Linked DNA regions of Homo sapiens: regions 2, 3, 4, 5, 6 and 7 are each linked to region 1. Evidence: promoter capture Hi-C in human tissues and cell types (Jung and others, 2019). All regions are on one chromosome and are shown on one strand. The core of a region is centred on a gene start or on the middle of the fragment in contact, and the rest is flanking DNA. Distances in the headings are between cores, read along the strand shown.

Region 1 (2,700 bases), core at 195-2,694:
GTGCCACACTCCCTTGGTGCTCACGCCGCCTGCCTGGAGCTGCCCTTAGGGGACAGCCTGCACCCTCTACCGAGCAGCCTCAGATCCCGCTTCCTCCCACCCTCTCCCGCTAAGTTCGTCTCTGGCAGGACCCTGGACCTGGGGCTTCCCAGACCCTTCCCAGGCCCCAGAGCTGACAGGTCCTTCCCACCAAGACTCCATCTCCACGCCCGGCTGCCCTCCTCCGCCCAGGACTCAGAGCGGGTCTCTGTTGGAAGCGTGGGTTCAGCCCCGAGGCGCGGCAGGAAGGTGGGCACAGGCTGGGCTCCTTCCACAGCCTCAGGGTCGGCCTCGTCCAAGCTGTTCCAGGGATGCGCGTGGGTGAAGGCCCCGCCTGCTCCTCACTCCCAGCCGAGGTGTTCGCCTCTGCGCGTTCCCCCTTCTCCTGGGTTCCTGCCCCCGCCTTTCTTTCCCCGGAGCCGTCCACCCCCTCGCCGGGCGCCGGCTTTCAAGCCTCAAACTTGGGGGATCCCCGGGCTGCCTGCCTGGGAGCTCTGGGCGCTCCGGCCTCCCCTCGCCCTGGAACCCGCTCTCCGGCCGCTGTCGTGGGGGGTCCCCTCTTCCGCACGCGAGTCACCTGTGCTCCTTCCTCTCCCCCGGACACGCGGGACCCCTGGCCTCGGGACCGGACCCTGGTCTCCCCTCCCCTCCGACCCACGCGCAGACCCAGCACCTGGGCGCCTGCTCGCCGCGCTCCGCCCCAGGAGCCCCGGAGCTCGCGTCCCCTCCCGCCCCTCCTGCCCCGCGGCCGAACGCGCACTTGCGGACTCGAGCCCCCGCCCCGGGTCCCCACAGCAGCGGCCCCAGGTCGGGAGGAGCCCAGCGCCCGGCCCAGCCGCGGGCTCCCGCTGCGCGCAGACTGCGGAGAAGGATGGAGACTGCGCCGCGGGGCCTCGAGTGGAACTGGGGGTGCAACAGGGACGCCGCAGCACGAGGGCCAGGGCCGGGCGGAGAAAGGCCCGCCCGCGAACCGCGCTCCTCCTCAGCCCCGCGCCCCCGGACCGGGACTCCTACCCTCCCCGGCCACGCGCCCCGGCCTCTTCCCGACCCCTGCCCGGTCTCGCGTCCCCGGACCCGGACCCCCACCCGCACCCCCTCCCCAGCCCCGCGCCCCTCCCCGGCCCCGCGCCCGCACCCCGGCACGCCCTCCGCCCGCGCTCACCCGCCGGGTGGCCGTACGGGGACTCGGCCGCGCCATCCTGCAGGCTCGCCAGGATCTCGCCCTTGCCCACGTCGCTGTCGCCCACCAGCAGGAACTTGAGCAGAAAGTCGTAGGCCCGGACCGGGCTGCCCAGGGCGCTCATCGTGACGGCCCGGCGCCCCCACCCATGCCCGGCCTGCGGGGCTGAGCGCAGAGGCGGCGGCCCGGCCCCGAGAGGCGCCGCGCGGGCCCCGAGTCCTTGCTCGCCTCCGGCCCCGCCCCGCCGCCCAGCGCTGACAGCGCGCATCCCCGCCCGGCCCCGCCATTGGTGGACCGCAGTTGCTAGGGCAGCTGCGCGCTTTCACTGGCTTGGTTGTCCGTCCATCTTACTCTCGTCACCGCCTCCGGGCTGTCGCCCACCCGCCCCTCCTGAAAGGTCGCTGTCACCACAGCCAATGGAGGCCCGGAGACGGGGCAGGGGCGGAGCCAGAACAAGCAGGAGGCGGGGACTCTGCTCCCGCAGCCAATGGCGGGGCGGGGTGGGGGCGATCAGGGGGTGGGGCCGGGTGTTTACACTCTCGCGTGCGCCCGTGAGCGCCACGAACTCGCTCCCACGGTCGTCGGGTCTGCACGCCCCGAGTCGGGAGGGGCGAGGGGCGGTGCAGGGTCCCAGCGTGGGGCCTCCCCACCTGCCCACCAGGGAGACCTCGGGTGCCTGGCCGGGTGGGGCTCGGGGTCGGTCCAGTTGGCGGACGCGGCCGGAAGGCCCCCGCAGGCCGCCTCGCCGGAGGAGTCCCTGTCGCCGTAGAATCCAGGCTCGCGGTCTCTCCCCACGGTTCATCCAGGGCCTCGTCGTTGCCCCATTTACGCGGCGTGCCTGAATGCCTGTGTGTGCACATGCGCCTGTGTACGTGTGCATGTGTTCGTGTGTGTGCATGTCTGCGTGTGCATGTGTGCCTCTGCAGATATCTGCACATGTATGTGTCTGCGTGTGCATGTGTCCCTCTGCAGGTGTCTGCACATCTATGTGTCTGCGTGTGCATGTGTCCCTCTGCAGGTGTCTGCACATGTATGTGCGTGTGCATGTGTCCCTCTGCAGATGTCTGCACATCTGTGTGTCTGCGTGTGCATGTGTGCCTCTGCAGGTGTCTGCACATGTATGTGCGTGTGCATGTGTGCCTTTGCAGGCATCTTTGCATGTGTGTGTCTGCGTGTGCTGCTTCTATGCATGCGCTCCTATGTGTGCGTGCGCTTGTTTGTGCATCCATGCATGTGTTTGCGTGCGTGCTGGAGGAGAGCATTGGGTGGGACCCTCCAGCCTTTTGGCTTCTCCTCTGCTCTAGAGAGCAAGGGTTGCCAGGCCGAGGTCTGCCCTTCGCTCTGAGGGTCTCACCAGGTGCACATTGGTTTATTTGGTGCAGAATTCAGGCAGCAGGCAAAGGGCGAGCTCCGTCCAAGAAGAAGGATAATGCCCCCACTACTTCATCCCCTCCACCCTGCGTTGTGTAGGGAACTGCTCT
Region 2 (2,700 bases), core at 1-2,500, 350 kb after region 1:
ACTACCAAAATTGACTCAAGAAGAAATAAAAAAAATCTCAACACACCTATAACAAATAAAGAGATTGACTCAGTAATAAAAAAAACAAAAACTCCCAACAAAAAAGCCCAGAGTCAGGTGACCTCACTGATGAATTCCACCAAACTCAGAGAATTACTAACACCAATCCTTCCCAAACTCTTCCAAAAAACAAGAGGAAGAAACACTTATTCTATGAGGCCAGTATTACTCTGATACCGAAGCCACACAAAGATATCATATGAATAGGAACCTACAGGCCAATAGCCCTTACAAATATATATATGCAAAAATCTTCAACAACATACTAGCAAACTGAATCCAGCAGTATACTAGAAAGATTTTACACCAGGAACAAGTGGGATTTATCCCAATAATGTGAGGGCAGTTCAACATAGGATATCAATCAACGTAACATACCATCTTAACAGATAAAGGGGAAAAAACTATATGATCATCTCAAATTGGTGTCAAAAAGGCATTTGACAAAATCCGGCACCCTTTCATGATTTAAAAATTCAACAGACTAGAATTAAAAGGAAACCTCCTTAGCGTAAGAAATGGCATTTATAAAAACCTACAGCTAACGTCATATTCAAAGGTGAAAGACTGAAAGCTTTTCCCCTACAATTGCTTGGGAGAACCGAAGCGAGGATGCCCACTTTCACCACTTCTATTCGGCACCGTCCTGGAAGCACCAACCAGAGCGATGAAGAAAGATAAAAGCCAGGCGCGGCGGCTCACGCCTGTCATCCCAGCATTTTGGGAGGCCAAGGCAGGCGGATCACCTGAGGTCAGGAGTTTGAGACCAGCCTGGCCAACATGGCGAAACCCCGTCTCTACTAGAAATACAAAAAAATTAGCTGGTTGTGGTGGCGCACGCCTGTAGACCCAGCTGCTCGGGAGGCTGAGACATGAGAATTGCTTGAACCCAGGTGGCGGAGCTTGCAGTGAGCTGAGATCGTGCCACTGCACTCCAGCCTGGATGACACAGTGAGACTCTGTCTCAAAAAAAAAAAAAGAAAGAATCTAAATTGTAAAAGGAGAAGCAAAACTATCTCTACTCATAGATAATATGATCTTAAATACAGGAAATCCTAAAAACCCACAAAGAACAAACTATTAAAGCTAATAAACTATTAGAGCTAATAATTGTAGGATACAAGGTCAACACTAAGAGAAATCTGTTGTTTATCCCCTAGAAATGAGCACTCTCAAAGAAAATTAAGAAAACAATTCACAAAACTTATCACAAAGCTCAAGTAATCAAAACAATGAGGTACTGGCGTAAGGACAGACATATAGACCAACGGAATAGAATCTGGAGTCCAGGAATGAATCCATACGTTTATGGTTAATGGATTTTTGACAAGAATACCAAGACAATTCAGTGGAGAAAGAATAGTCTTTTAAATGGTGTTGGAAAAACTGAGTATCTACTTACAAAAGAATGAAGCTGGACCTTTGCTTCACACCATACATAAAAATTAAGTCAAAATAGATCAAAGGCCTAAATATAAGAGCTACAAGTATAATTCTGAAGAAAACATACAGATAAAATCTTCGTGACCTTGATTTAGCCGTGGCTTCTTAGAAATGACACCAAAAGCACACGCCACAAAAGAAATAATAGATAAATTAGATTTTTGTCTTCATCAAAATCATAAGCCTTTTGTGCATCAAGGGACACTCTCGAGAGGGTGAAAAGATAACCCAAAGAACGGGAAAAAAATTGCAAATTATATATAATAAAGCTCTAGTGTCCAGAACATATAAGGAGCTCTTACAATTCAACAATGAAAACACATACAGCTCAATTTTTAAAATGGCCAAAATACTTGAATAAACATTTCTTCAAGGAAGATATACATTTATTTATTTATTTATTATTTTTTGAGACGGAGTTTTGCTCTTGTTGCCAGGCTGGAGTCCAATGGTACGATCTCGGCTCACAGCAGAGATCGCGATCTCTGCCTCCCGGGTTCAAGCAATTCTTCTGTCTCAGCCTCCTGAGTAGCTGGGATTAAAGGCCGCTGCCACTACTCCAAGCTAATTTTTGTATTTTTAGTAGAGACGGGGTTTCACCATGTTGGGCAGCTTGGTCTTGAACTCCTGACCTCTGGTGATCCACCCGCCTTGGCCTCCCAAAGTGCTGGGATAACAGGCATGACCCACCAAACCCGGCCCATTTATTTTTTATTATTTATTTTGAGATGGAGTCTCACTCTGTCACCCAGGCTGAAGTACAGTGGCACCATCTCGGCTCACTGCAACCTCTGCCTCCCGGGTTCAAGCGATTCTCCTGCCTCAGCCTCCCAAGTGGCTGAGATTACAGGTGCATGCCACCACACCTGGCTAATTTTTTTTTGTGGTATTTTTAGTAGAGATGGGGTTTCACCATGTTGGCCAGGCTGGTCTCAAACTCCTGACCTCAGGTGGTCCACCCGTCTCGGCCTCCCGAAGTGCCGGGATTAGAGGCGTGAGTCACCATGCCTGGCCCAAGGAAGATATATAAATGGCCAACAAGCACACGAAAAGAGGCACAACATCTTTAGTCAACAAGGACATTCAAATGGAAACCACAGTGAGACACCACTTCACACCCACTAGCATGGCTATAATTTAAAAAACAGAAAATAACAAGTGTTGATGAGGATATGTAGAAATTGGAACGTTCATACA
Region 3 (2,700 bases), core at 1-2,500, 370 kb after region 1:
CACCAACGGGGTGTCCCACGATTCAGTTCGACTCTCACACTACCTGCAGGTAGCGCAGACCCCGCAGGCTGGGGCTCCGTCCCACAAGCTGCCCCTCTGCAGGCGACCGTCCCAAGTATCGGGTGCCCAGGGTTCACACGCCTCCGTCTGACTTGGCTACAAAGTTGGGGGTTGCCACGACTCCTCCCCAGGCTTGATAATTTGCTCTAAGTCTCACAGGACTCAGGGAAAAACTCATTTACGTTCACTGATTCACTATAAAAGATGTAATAAAGGATACAGATGGACAACCAGATAACAAGGTGCACAGGGCGGGGTCCAGGAAGGACCCAAGTGCAGGAGTTTCTGTCCACCCCCCACACTCCCATGCGTTCCCCAGTCCAGAAGCTCCCGGATTCTATCTGTTAAAGGGTTTAATGGAAGCCGGCAGGCATGACCAATGGATCGTTATTCAATCTCAGCCCTTCTCCCCTCCCTGGAGGCCGGTGGGACTGAAAGTTCCAAGCTTCTAATTGATGTTTGGTCTTCCCGGTGAGCGTACCCCATCCTGAAGCTGTCTAGGGGCCCCCAAGAGTCACCTCCTTGAACAAAAAAACGCTCCTAGCACCCAGGAAATACCAAGCGATTTCGGAGCTGGTGTGGGGAACCAGGGCAGAGGCCAAATGTATATTTCTTATTCTGTTACCTGGTGCCTGGAGGCCCTGGCCACTTTCGGGTTGGCCGACCTTCGGGAAGTTTCCTGGTCCCGAACGTCTCGGGTCACTGTGGGGTAACGAGGCTCTCGGACCCTCGCCATCTGTCATCGTCATCGCCGCCGCAGGCTGGCCTTCCCTGAAGAGCTCCAGATCGCAGACACCGTGCCGTGCCCGCCACGCAGATGCAGTTTCCACTCAGCCCCACAGTGCGGGCTTCCTGGGCCCGTGTCCGGCTGGAGGAGCACCCCGGGTCCGAGCCAGCCATCCCCTCAAGAGTCCTGCGCCCTGGAGGACACCCCAAATGCCACCCCTGCTGTTACCTCCTGCAGGTTTCAGGATACTCTTACGTCGTTCTCTGTGTTCATCCGCATTTTCTGTCATGAAAGTGAATTTCTTTTGTCATAAGAAACTGTGTTTCTCAGCCTCAGGCTGCCTCACCGGGCTTCACCATGGGCGCGGCTGCCCGCCCCCTGCACACTCACTGTGCGTCCTGGAGGGACAGTGCGTGTTCTCACCCGGGGCCACGGCTTCACCCTGGGCACGGCTGCCCGCCCTCTGCACCCTCACCCTGAGTCCTGGAGGGACAGTGCGTGTTCTCACCCGGGGCCACGGCTTCACCCTGGGCACGGCTGCCCGCCCCCTGCACACTCACTGTGCGTCCTGGAGGGACAGTGCGTGTTCTCACCCGGGGCCACAGCTTCACCCTGGGCACGGCTGCCCGCCCTCTGCACCCTCACCCTGAGTCCTGGAGGGACAGTGCGTGTTCTCACCCGGGGCCACGGCTTCACCCTGGGCACGGCTGCCCGCCCTCTGCACCCTCACCCTGAGTCCTGGAGGGACGGTGCATGTTCTTACCTGGGGCCACGCAGGGCCTCTCAGGGAAGGCTGTGGCAAGACAGACACTCTTCTCAAGGCAGGTCTGGGTGCCTGGGGACTACCCCCTAGGGACCCGAGAGACCCGCTGGGTAGGATCCGGCCCCCTGTCTGCCGCGCGGCCTCCGGGAGAGAGCTGGCCTCTCCGCGTCTGTTTTCTGCCTGTGAAGGAGGCGATGGTGAAGATACCAGCTGTGGGTTTCAAGGGGAGGTGACACCTGCGCTCTGGTGGCCATGGTGTGGACACGGACCCATTGTCTGTTTCCTTTGCGGGATTCCACGCTGGGCTCCTGTTGGCAAGAGGAAGGTCCTGAGGAACTGCGGGGGGAGGCTCGGCCTCGCCTGCCCAGGTGGTGTGGGTGCCTGCGCCTGGGGGAGAGCCTGGGGTTCTCTCGGGACCCGCCTCTCCTCCCAAGGCCATTTCCATGCACTGGACACTGCAGGCCCTGAGGCATCAGGTCTCGCTGGCTTTGCTGGCCGTCCGGAGCTCTGGCCTAGGTGCGGAGTCCTGGGGGTCCTGGGGAACCCACCTGAAGCCCCCCCTCGTGGCCCCTGTGGCAACACTGACCGGGCCTGACCTGTCCCCTCGTGTCACACTGACCGGGCCTGACCTGTCCCCTTGTGTCACACTCATCTTACACTGTGCTTTATCTTGTTACCCTGCAGGCATTCACCTCAACCCCTCCCGTCCCCTCTGGGATGAGCCGGGCCACAGATAAAGGCCTCTTAGCGGAGCTACGAAAAGGATCACTTTAGCCCTTCTGGGAAGGAGGGATTTAGGTTAAGTCAGCTCAGCTTAGATTCCAAAAGACTAGGACGGTCAGCCCAGGACCCAGGCATTTGGGTGACACAAGTGCTTTCCGGCCGGGAGAGCCACAGGCTGTGCAGGGAAAACTCAGTTGCTTTTGCTTTCTGAAGTTCAGGGCTTCCAGCTGGACGTTTTTGGAAGTGCGGGAAACACATGAGGTTTCGCTAAAGGAATGAAGCCTGAGCCTCCACGGGGATGAGAATGACCCAAGAACCTCCCGAAATCCCACCTGCAGGAGGCGACAGCGGGGGCGACAGCGGGGGTCCCGGGAGGCGACAGCGGGGGGCGGCAGCGGGGGTCCCGGGAGGCGACAGCGGGGGCGGC
Region 4 (2,700 bases), core at 2-2,501, 330 kb before region 1:
CCCCAGCCCTAGCCCCTAGACTCCAGCTTAGTAATCAGCTCTCACAGAACCATCACGTCGGAGGCAGCCTTCCACCCCCTTTCCTCCCGCGCACAGGCAGGATGAGCTGCTCCCCTTTCGGGTCGGAAGCTGCAGCTGTATTTGGTTTCAGTTCGGCTGTTTTCAGCTCACAGAGAATGAACTGTCTTATTGTGTGACCCTTGCTCCGTCCAGCGGACGCTCGGAGACCAGAGGGACTTTTCCCGCCCTCTCCAGCCCAGCCTCGCCTCCCCAGCACGTGGCAAACGTCCCACGGAGGGGACTGGTGGGCATCTGGGGCTCCCCCGGATCCAGCTGATTGCAGGAGCCTCTCGGCCATTCACACTTGGCCACCTCCTCTCCCCCAGCAGAACCCCTTCAGCTTTAGGGGCCGGTCCGCGGCCTCAGGCAGCAGATGAGCCCCGGGCGGAGTGGAGTGGGCGAGGCCAGCTCCTCGCTGGGGGCCCTTTAGACCCCGTGTTCACAGCTCTCCAGCTCTCCTCTAGTCTAATTTATTAATGTTCTGTGTCTTTTTCTTTCAGGGGTTCAGCATGAGTGAAGGCCCACATCCTACCTCCGAGCAGCAAGTGAAACCGAGTGGGGGCCAGCACCCAGCTCAGGGGCTCGAGGGTGAGGCTGTGGGGTCCTTCCTCCTACCCCGCGGGGCCCTGCAGCTCCCAGCGTCACTTCCGTGGATGTGGCCACCACGAGTCCCTGCCGAGGCCTGGAGAGGCTGCGTGGGCTTCTAAGAGCATCTGTGGGAGACCCGCAACAGGGGCGGGGTCAAGGCCCCCAAAGAGCCCGTCCCCGCCTGGGCGGGTGACTCCCTCCCTCCCTTACCTCCTTTCTATGACCCTCTCGGGGTTTAGGGGTGTTCCTGCCCCCCACCTGCGCGCGGGCGGGTCCAGGGCTTGGTGGACACGGAGAATCCCAGGCTCCGTGCCCTGCAAACACGGGCGTGAGGGGCGCAGGGGTGAACGCTGGAGGCGGAGAACCCAAGAGGGGCTGCGGGGTCAGCCTTGGGGCAGCCGGGCTGGAGGCAGCTTCGCTCCGCAGACGCAGACGCGAGACCCGCCTGGGACCCTCCGCCGACCCCGCTGCGGCCCCGCGACCCCCGCGTCTTCCCGGCGCCGCGCGGTCAGCGCCGCCCCCTAGACACCCGGCGCCGTCCCCTCCGCGCGCCTGCTGCCCGCTGGGGTTATTTTAATACCGGGCCCTGGCGCGGGGCGCGGCGCATTCCCAGCTGGCGGCGGGCAGGTGGCGGCGGCGCAGAGACCCGGCGCGGGGCGGGGGGCGCGGCTTTGGTGGCGGGACTGGCGGGCGCCCCTGCCGTGTGCTCTGGAAGCCGAGGCCACCGCGGAGCCCCTCGCGCCCCCTCTGCGCTGGGACAGGGGAGCGCGCCTCGGAAAGTTCCCCGCGGCCCCGCTGCGCGAGGAGTTTGGAGCCGCGAGCGGCTGCCCCCACGCGCGACCCCAGGCTCGGCGGGCAGGTCTGGCCGCTCAGTGACCGGAGGCAGGTGGGTCCTCGGTGGGTGACCGGGAGCGCGCGGGGACTGCCGGGTCTGTGCCCTTCGGGGCCCTCCGCAGGGCTGGGCCGGGGTTTCGCGGTGGGAACCCACCCTGGGCGAGGGGAGCGGGGTCCAGCGAGGCGGCTTCTCCCGTGCCGTGGAACTTTCGGCCCCTCCCCTTCCCCCCTAGCGACCCTGGAGCAATCCTAGCGGCCCGGCGGCCGCTGTCCCCCTGCCCGTGACTCGGGCTCGCGCACAACTGGGGAGCCCGGTGCACCCTCGGCTTCTGCGCCGTCCCCTGGGTGAGGGCTCTGGAAATGCCCTGGGTGGGGGCAGCAAGGGGGTGAGGGTCCCCTGGACAGATGGAGCTGGGAGCTGCTCGGCCTGGTGGGAAAGGGCGGACAGGGCACATTTCCAGGCCCTGGAAGGCCCCCAGCGCCCCCACCTGTTGACAACTCCCCACCCCAGCCAAGACTGCTCCCTGCGCAGCCATGAGTGTTCGGCCTAAATTCAGCGTGGCTCGTGGAATCAGGCAGCCTCCTGTGTCTTGTTTCTTCAGCCCACCACCGCGCTGTTTCATCCAGGCTGCTGACCCCAGCGGCGACTCCTTCACTGGCTTCATGTCACAGTTTGCCTGCCCCGTCCACTGGGGACATTTGAGCTGTTTCCAGCTTCTTAGGAGTCAAGCTGCCGTGAACTTTCGCACGCTTGTCATTTTCTGAACGTTGGCAGCCCTTTATCTAAGGTACTAACCTGAGAGTAGAATTGCCGGGTGAGAAGGTATAGGCGGTCAACTCTGCAAATCGTGCCAATGGCTTTCCAAAGCGGCGGCACAGTCCAGGTTCCCAGCAACAGGAAACGGCAGGGCCAGCTCCTCCACAGCCCCCACGCCTGTTGACAAGGATATCTGCCTTTTCACGCGTTCATCCTTGTCAGCACGCAGGGGCTCCTGTGGCCCTGACTGGCATTTCCCTGCTTGTTGGCTGCGTGGGTGTCCTTTTCAGGAAGTCCCCGGTCACGGTTTTGGTCTCTTTTTTTCAAATGGGTTGTTTGTCTTTTCCTTACTAATTTGCAGTTCTTCCCTATATTTTTCTTACCAGCTTTTTGTCTATGTTTCTTCTTTTTTTTTTTCTCTGAGACAAAGTCTCACTTTGTTGCCCAGGCTGGAGTGCGGT
Region 5 (2,706 bases), core at 161-2,660, 480 kb after region 1:
TTTCCACGCCTGGGGGGTGCAGGGGGGATGGGCCTGGCTTTCCACGCCTGGGGGGTGCAGGGGGGATGGGCCTGGCTTTCCACGCCTGGGGGGTGCAGGGGGGATGGGCCTGGCTTTCCACGCCTGGGGGGTGCAGGGGGGATGGGCCTGGCTTTCCACGCCTGGGGGGTGCAGGGGGGATGGGCCTGGCTTTCCACGCCTGGGGGGTGCAGGGGGGATGGGCCTGGCTTTCCACGCCTGGGGGGTGCAGGGGGGATGGGCCTGGCTTTCCACGCCTGGGGGGTGCAGGGGGGATGGGCCTGGCTTTCCACGCCTGGGGGGTGCAGGGGGGATGGGCCTGGCTTTCCACGCCTGGGGGGGTGCAGGGGGGATGGGCCTGGCTTTCCACACCCGGGGGGTACAGCGGGGATGGGCCTGTATTCCACACCTGGGGGTGTATGTCCACCACCCAGATGCCACCTCTGTGTCATTCCTGGAGGGCATTCGGGCATCACCTGAGGGTGGGGAGCAGTGCCCTGACCCACATGACCCCCAGCAGAAGCTGCCACTGTCGGCCCTGGGCTCCGGGTGTCAGCGTGGCGCTCTGGGCTTTTCCCACACTGGGGGGCCATTTCAGGATGTGGATCCCTCCAGGAAGGGCTTGCTGAGTGGCTGCTGTTTGCTGGGATGGGTGAGGGGTAGACAACAGGCACTCAGGAGCCATGGTTGGGACAGAACTTATGTTTGTCAGCCACCTTGGAGGGGCGACCTGGAGAGCTCGGACAACCTTGCAGCACCCACCAGAGAGCTTAGCACCAGGACCCAGCGGAGCTCTCCCACGTGCACACAGACTCACTGCTCGTGTGTGAGAAGGGGAATAAGTGTGACTGAGCCTTCTGGAAGTTAGGGCCTAGCACAGAGGGTCCCAGATGGCCCGGAGAACCAGGTCCTGTGCAGCTATCCAGAGAAGGTCCAGTCACCAGAGACAGACAGCTGGAGTGCCAGGGCCCTGGAGGTATCAATTGCCTTTGTTTTACATGAAGACATTGAACTTCCACAGGAGGGCAAACGCCCTGGCTAAAGTAACTGGCGGGGCAGCGTCAGGAACTCACAAGCCCCTGTGGTCCGTGCAGGCTGCCGTCGATTTGATGAGCACAGCAGGTCCAGGCAGAGAGACGCTCACCTCCAGCTGCGGTTGGGGTATGTCTGGGAGGCCTGTGGGGTGGCTTTGCTCCTCCACCTTGGGCCAGGGTAGCCTGTGGCAAAGACAGTCTCACAGTGTGTAGTCTCCTTGAGGTCTGGGCCTGTCCGCAGACAGGAAATAATGAGACCGGCTCAGGACAGGGCCGGGCTGGCCTCTGTGTTTTGTGAAAGTTCGAGTTTCTACACCCTCTGAGAAGATGCTGGGCCCTGAGGGAGGGTGTGGACCAGAAGGAAGTCACGGGGTGAGTGGAGGGGGAGGGAAGCTTATGTGCCATTTTAAGAAGACGACAGCAAAAACAGGAAAATCCTATTTATCTGAATCCTATGTGATTCCACTTGAATTTTCAATAATTTAGACAAAAGTAAATTGGCGTTTACTTTTGCATTAGCCATAAGGAGCAGAAGGAGAAATTTGCTCCCTAGAATATGAGTGTTGACGTGTTGCTGACATCAAAACAGAATTTAAACTTTGAGGAAAGAGAGATGCCAGTGCTGCCACAAAGGCACCGACGCCCGAGACAGCAGGGCTCGTGTTTCTTCACGCAGACCATCTGTGCCGCCGTTGGCCATCGGAGGTGATGAAACTGGGCTGCTTCCAATGCATTCCAGAATGTAAACCCCTCACCGTGTTTCTTCTTGGTTTGATCCCTGGAGTGCCTGTGCTTTGTCTTCAAGTCACACTTGGGATTTTGCTAGTTTTCCAAGATTATCGCATTTTTTTTGAACAAAGTAAATCAGTTTCCGACAATGCCACTGTCGTGTTAGGGTTTCTCGGCGTGTCGCCTGGCTCTGGCCGGGGTTGTGTGTGACGCTTCCTACCCGTGCTGCCTTGCACATTTATGGAGCAGGGGGTTTGCCGGCAGCGGTCTTGGTTCCTTATAATCCTGTCATCGTCCTCGTCGTCAGCCCCCTCCTTCCCCTGCTCTTCCTCTGTTGTCCCAGCAAGACTTTCAAAGAACCAGCTATTGCTCAAGTGGTCTTTTAGAGAATGTGCACACCTCTCAACCACTCCACAACACCTCAAGATTGCAGTGGTTGTGTTTCGGGTTCACATACATGTATATCGAGACTCAGGGAAGTCCAGGGCCACACAGGAAGTGGCAGAGCCAAGATTTAGACCTGATCTAGCTCCAAATCCCAGCTTCTCTGTTGCTGGCCACGCAGGATGAGCTCTGTTTCCCAGGCAGGCTGAGCAAATGTCCAGGATGGCAGGTTCTTGGCAGGGCCCTGGGGGCTGAGGCCACAGAAGGCCTCCTCACAGGAGTGGGGGTGAAGGGCCCCAGGTCCAGGCTGGATGACCTTCTGCCCTTCCTGATGCGGGTGACCTGGCTCTGCTGGTTTGAAGTAAAAACGCTGTTGGCAGAGAATCGAGACGCGGGGAAGGTTAGTTCAGGGCAGGGATGTTGGTGTCTGCGGGTGATGACTGCAGCCTCCCTGTGTGTTGTGTTTCCCGGTTGGCACACCTCTGTTTATTGTCTGCGCCAGCCTCATACCCCCTTTCCCTCAGCGTATTTCCTTCATAAC
Region 6 (2,700 bases), core at 1-2,500, 300 kb after region 1:
ATGTGTTCACTGTGTTGACTGTGGTGGGTCACTGGGGTACAGACACATGTCAAAACCGATCAAACTGTACATTTGAAATAGGGGCCATTTGCTGTATGTCAGTTATACATCAACAAAGCTATACATCAACAAAGGTATACATCAACAAGACAAATGGACAAATCACTGTAAATCCCATAAAGCCTCTAGCTCTAAGTACTACTTTGCAGGAACTCCAGGGACAGAGGAATCTGTTAAATGAGACCAGGGAGATGCAATCAGCAGAAGTCGGACTACTGAAAGCACCGATGGCAAATCATTCAACATCGTCCACAACATAGTCAAGGAAAAGGAAGACGGAGGAATCTGGATATTTAAAGGGATTTATCAACAACTGCAATGTATGCACCTTCTTTAGATCTCAATTCAAACCAGAAACTGTGAAGAAAAAAGGAAGAAGATGAGAAAGTGGACAAGGAGGAGAAAAACAGAACTTTATGAAACAGAAAGTCCCAGGAAGGAACACTTCGGCATCCTTCAAGTCAACACAGGGTGTAGGACTCCATTTACGTAAAATTCCAGCAAACGTAAACCAGTCTATGGTCACAGAAAGCAGAGGGGCGGGCGGGGTGGGGGACGGGAGCCCCTCTAGGTGCTGGGTGTGTGACCTGCACACAGAGACATCTGAGAGGAACAAGTGGTGGGTTTGCAGTAACATCGTTTTTTCTCTGTAATTTTTTATATTGCTTGACTTTATGAAACAGTGAAGCATAACTTTTGACAAATGCAATAAAGTTTTTCTTTTTCTTTTTTTGAGACAGGGTCTGTTGCCCAGGCTGGAGGGCAGTGGTACAATCATGGCTCATGGTGGCCTTGACCTCCTGGGCTCAGGTGATCCTCCCACCTCAGCCTCCCGAGAAACTGGGACTAAAGGTGTGAACCACCACACCCAGATAATGTTTCGTAGAGACAGGGTCTCACTATATTGCGCAGACTGGTCTTAAATCCCCAGGCTCAAGTGATCCTCCTGCTTCAGCCTCTCAAAGTGCTGGGATTATAGGCGTGAGCCACTGCGCCTTTTTTTTTTTTTTAAATTTCCCACACTATACTGGCATGAAGGTCTATTTTAAAATTGTTTTAAGTGAATACAGTATGTAACTGATAAAAGAACATTGATTCATTTTAATTAAAAAACATGAAAATAAAAAACTCTTCTATGGGCATCAAAGCTAACACTCAGGAGAAAGCCTGCCCCCACGGGGCAGCTCAGCCATGGCCTCCGGGGAACCCGCTCTCGGTGACAGCGCTCTGACCGCGGTCTGGAGCTGGGCTGAAACTCAACATGTGTCCAGACTGCTGCAGTTCAGAACCAGCTTGGCAACGCCGAACCGCATTCCGGTTTGCACGAGGTGCACGTTACTTAGAAAAGTAGCCACAGTCTGCCTGAGTTCCCGTTTTAAGTATTTTCACAACTTCACTGAAAAGCACAGCAACTCACTCACAGTGTGCAGCCTAGTCACCAGGACACGCGCCCTCGGCCGCTAGCTCGTACAGGGAAGGGCTGTCATGACATGACCACAAGATGGTCTCTGCCTCCCCCAGGGGCAGCCAAGGGCCCCACAGAGGATGGCAGGGACAAGCCACCCATGTGGCAACGGCCACGTCCCCTCCCTCAGACGGCAGCCAGTCATACCCGAGGCGGCACCGCGGGCGGCCCCGTGTCCAGTCTCACAGAAGCACAGTCCACTGCCGAGGACACCCTGTTGTCCACATCGCATGCAGCAGCCTGGCTCTTGGAACGTGCTGGGGGCACACGGGACACGGAGACGCTGAAACACTAGCTGTGGGATTCCTGAGCCCGCCCTCCCACTCTCTGCAGTCCGCGTGTGGGATTCCTGAGCCCGCCCTCCGCGTGTGGGATTCCTGAGCCCGCCCTCCCGCCCTCCGCGTGTGGGATTCCTGAGCCCGCCCTCCCACTCTCCGCAGTCCGCGTGTGGGATTCCTGAGCCCGCCCTCCCGCCCTCCGCGTGTGGGATTCCTGAGCCCGCCCTCCCGCCCTCCGCGTGTGGGATTCCTGAGCCCGCCCTCCCACTCTCCGCAGTCCGCGTGTGGGATTCCTGAGCCCGCCCTCCCGCCCTCCGCGTGTGGGATTCCTGAGCTCGCCCTCCCACTCTCTGCAGTCCGCGTGTGGGATTCCTGAGCCCGCCCTCCGCGTGTGGGATTCCTGAGCCCGCCCTCCCACTCTCTGCAGTCCGCGTGTGGGATTCCTGAGCCCGCCCTCCCGCCCTCCGCGTGTGGGATTCCTGAGCCCGCCCTCCCGCCCTCCGCAGTCCGCGTGTGGGATTCCTGAGCCCGCCCTCCCGCCCTCCGCGTGTGGGATTCCTGAGCTCGCCCTCCCACTCTCTGCAGTCCGCGTGTGGGATTCCTGAGCCCGCCCTCCCACTCTCCGCAGTCCGCGTGTGGGATTCCTGAGCCCGCCCTCCCGCCCTCCGCGTGTGGGATTCCTGAGCTCGCCCTCCCACTCTCTGCAGTCCGCGTGTGGGATTCCTGAGCCCGCCCTCCCACTCTCTGCAGTCCGCGTGTGGGATTCCTGAGCCCGCCCTCCCACTCTCTGCAGTCCGCGTGTGGGATTCCTGAGCCCACCCTCCCACTCTCTGCAGTCCGCGTGTGGGATTCCTGAGCTCGCCCTCCCACTCTCTGCAGTCCGCGTGTGGGATTCCT
Region 7 (2,700 bases), core at 78-2,577, 270 kb before region 1:
GGAAAGAAAAGGTGCTTTTCAGGCCAGGTGCGGTGGCTCACACCAGTAGTAATCCCAGCACTTTGGGAGGCCGAGGCTGGTGGATCACCTGAGGTCAGGAGTTCGAGACCAGCCTGACCAACATGGCGAAACCCCGTCTCTACTAAAAATACAAAAATTAGCCAGGCATGGTGGCGGGCACCTGTAGTCCCAGCTGCTCGGGAGGCTGGGGCAGGAGAATCACTTGAACGCAGGAGGCAGAGGTTGCCATGAGCCAAGATCGCACCACTGCACTCCAGCCTGGGTGACAGAGCAAGACTCCGTCTCAAAAAATATATATATACACATATTCTTTTTCCTGTCTGCATCAAACAGGAAGTGATGCGGCATTAACCACCACACCGATTTAATGGCTCTTAGGTTCCATTTATTTCTCTAACAGATACACCATTCTGGCTTCTATTTCCACACACCGCGGGTAAGAAGGTTGTTTTCACTTACACATGTCGGTGTTCTGGGCGTGCCACCGGAGTTCCTTCCCACAGCTCGGTCCTCCAGCCTTTCTAGTTGATTCTCTCCATCGTACTCTGCTCTGGGACCCGGCCTGCGCTCTTAGCCTCCTGCCACGTATCCACAGAATGTCTCTGCCAAGGCCGCCAGGGTCCTCCAGGTCACTAAGTCCAGGGACGGTTTTAGTCCTTTCCTGCTGGGCCCCTCGGTAGCTTCTGGCATCCCCAGCCGCTCTCCTGAGCCCCACACTTTCTGGCTTCCCTCTGCCTCTGACTGCACCTCCTCGATATCCATTTGCATTTGTCTCTCTGTAGCTGGCGGTCCCCAGGGCTCCTCTCGGTCCCTGTCCCCACCTCCCACTCTCTCTCTAGATGGTGCCATTTCTGCTCCTGCTTTCTCTTTGTCCTCCTCTTCGTCTTCCTCTTCCTCTTCTGTCTGCACCTCAGCAACTCCAGACCTCCTGGGTTACAGACCCTCATCCCCAGCTGCCTGCTGGTCGCTTCCATTGAGGGCCCTCCTCCAGCCTCTGGTGTGCAAACCAGAAGCAGACCAGCCACAGTCAGCACCACCACCCGCCACGCCCTGACCCATGTTGGTCCTGCTGCTGCTCCTCCTCCTCTTCCTCTGTCATGCAGGCACCACCCCTGTCTAAACCACTATGGACTCACCATGAAACTTTCCTAATGGGTCTCCCGGGGCCACTCTGCCCCTCCGTGCCCCTCTCCCCACCACAGCAAGTCACAGCACAGCCCTGACCACTCACACTCGCCATCTCCTCAAAGGACACTGCTGTCAGGGCAGAAGTGATCGCCACAAACCAGGTGGCTTAAGACAACAGAAATGTTCTCTCAGCCCTGGAGACCAGACATCCAAAATCAGCGTGTCGAAGGGTTGGTTTCTTACTGAGGAAGACCCTCCATGTGTACATTTACTATTAGTATACCCTTTTTGTGTGTTTGTTTTTGAGACAGGGTCTCACTCTGTTTCCCAGGCTGGAGTGTAGTGGTGCAGTCTTGGCTCACTACAACCTCTGCTTCCGAGTTCAAGTGATTCTCCTGCCTCAGCCTCCTGAGCACCTGAGATTACAGGTGTACCCCACCATGCCCGGCTAACTTTTTATCTTTTTATTAGAGATGAGGTTTCAAGATGTTGGCCAAGCTAGTCTCAAACTCCTGGCCTCAGGCGATCCGCCTGCGTCGGCCTCTCAAAGTACTGGGATTACAGGCGTGAGCCACGGTGCCCAGCCCAGTATACCCTCTTGGTATACTAGAAATAACTGCTCAGGTGTTTTGCCCATTTTTTTTTTCAACTTGAGTTTTTAAAGTTCTTTATATGTTCTAGATGCAAGTCCTCTGATGGTATGTAATTTGCAGGTATTCTCCCCCAGTGTAGAGCTACATGCTTCTGGTGTCATTTCTAAAAACTCTTTGTGATCACCAGATCACAAAGATTTTTCTTGTATTTTCTTCTAAAGTTTAACTTCTGTGCATTTTTCATTTAGATCTATGATCCATTTTTAGTTTGGTATTTTTATTCTTTCTCCAGAACCCTTGAACATCCAAGTTATTTGTCTTGAGTCACAGACTCACTCTGTCACCCAGGCTGGAGCGCGTGGTACAATCACAGCTCACTGCAGCCCTGAGCTTCTGGGCTCAAGCTTCTGGGCTCAAGCACCTCAGCCTCCTGAGTAGCAGGGACCACAGGTGCGTGCCACCATACCCGGCCAGTTTTTTTTATTATTTGCAGATACCAGGTCCCACTATGTTGCCCAGACTGGTCTCGAACCCCTGGCCTCAAACAGTTCTCCCACCTCAGCCTCTCGGAGCGCTGGGATTATAGGCATGAGCCATTGCACCTGGCCCCATTTTGAGTTAATTTTTTTTGTTCATTTTCCTTTTTGTGAAGAGTGGGGTCTCACTATGTTGCTGGGCTGGTCTCAAACTTCTGGGCTCAGGTGATCTTCCCGCCTCTGCCTCCCTAAGTGCTAATTTTTTTTTTTTTTTTGAGACAGAGTTTCACTCTGTCACCCAGGCTGGAGTGCAGCGGCGTGATCTCAGCTCACTACAAACTCCACATTCCAAGTAGCTTCAGCCTCCCGAGTAGCTGGGATTACAGCGCCCGCCACCACACCCAGCTAATTTTTGTCTTCTTAGTAGAGACGGGGTTTTGCCATGTTGGCCAAACTGATCTCGTCGAACTCCTGACCTGAAG

The links. Contacts are between HindIII fragments. The study calls those that stand out against the background at their distance.
Region 2: a contact is called between a fragment that was not itself captured here and the fragment with the promoter of RAB40B in region 1, in 1 of the 25 tissues and cell types used here (lymphoblastoid cells).
Region 3: a contact is called between a fragment that was not itself captured here and the fragment with the promoter of RAB40B in region 1, in 1 of the 25 tissues and cell types used here (lymphoblastoid cells).
Region 4: the fragment with the promoter of UTS2R here is called in contact with the fragment with the promoter of RAB40B in region 1 in 2 of the 25 tissues and cell types used here (bladder and dorsolateral prefrontal cortex).
Region 5: a fragment that was not itself captured here is called in contact with the fragment with the promoter of RAB40B in region 1 in 3 of the 25 tissues and cell types used here (dorsolateral prefrontal cortex, lymphoblastoid cells and spleen).
Region 6: a contact is called between a fragment that was not itself captured here and the fragment with the promoter of RAB40B in region 1, in 2 of the 25 tissues and cell types used here (lymphoblastoid cells and spleen).
Region 7: a fragment that was not itself captured here is called in contact with the fragment with the promoter of RAB40B in region 1 in 1 of the 25 tissues and cell types used here (dorsolateral prefrontal cortex).

What each region holds. Positions count from the first base shown.
Region 1 is chr17:82,697,254-82,699,953 of GRCh38, forward strand. It overlaps RAB40B (RAB40B, member RAS oncogene family), which reads right to left and starts at 1,445. Exons shown (of 6, transcript NM_006822.3): 1 at 1,202-1,445. The coding sequence starts at 1,343. RefSeq lists silencers at 1,174-1,603, 1,624-2,013. The HindIII fragment of the contact is 28,650 bases long and covers 1-2,700 here.
Region 2 is chr17:83,043,920-83,046,619 of GRCh38, forward strand. All of the region lies in intron 3 of QTGAL (queuosine-tRNA galactosyltransferase), which reads right to left. Among named protein-coding and RNA genes, the nearest start is that of QTGAL, 6.5 kb to the right of the region's middle. The HindIII fragment of the contact is 5,650 bases long and covers 1-2,700 here.
Region 3 is chr17:83,065,535-83,068,234 of GRCh38, forward strand. No RefSeq gene overlaps it. Among named protein-coding and RNA genes, the nearest start is that of METRNL, 13 kb to the right of the region's middle. The HindIII fragment of the contact is 5,163 bases long and covers 1-2,700 here.
Region 4 is chr17:82,370,514-82,373,213 of GRCh38, forward strand. It overlaps UTS2R (urotensin 2 receptor), which reads left to right and starts at 1,252. Exons shown (of 3, transcript NM_018949.3): 1 at 1,252-1,534; 2 at 2,085-2,270. The HindIII fragment of the contact is 34,629 bases long and covers 1-2,700 here.
Region 5 is chr17:83,181,605-83,184,310 of GRCh38, forward strand. The region is part of intron 2 of LOC101929650 (a long non-coding RNA gene); the gene reads left to right. Among named protein-coding and RNA genes, the nearest start is that of METRNL, 100 kb to the left of the region's middle. The HindIII fragment of the contact is 3,242 bases long and covers 1-2,706 here.
Region 6 is chr17:83,001,001-83,003,700 of GRCh38, forward strand. All of the region lies in intron 6 of QTGAL (queuosine-tRNA galactosyltransferase), which reads right to left. Among named protein-coding and RNA genes, the nearest start is that of QTGAL, 49 kb to the right of the region's middle. The HindIII fragment of the contact is 7,803 bases long and covers 1-2,700 here.
Region 7 is chr17:82,428,954-82,431,653 of GRCh38, forward strand. All of the region lies in intron 4 of HEXD (hexosaminidase D), which reads left to right. It overlaps LOC124904091 (a long non-coding RNA gene), which reads right to left and starts at 1,459. Exons shown (of 3, transcript XR_007065958.1): 1 at 481-1,459. The HindIII fragment of the contact is 5,064 bases long and covers 1-2,700 here.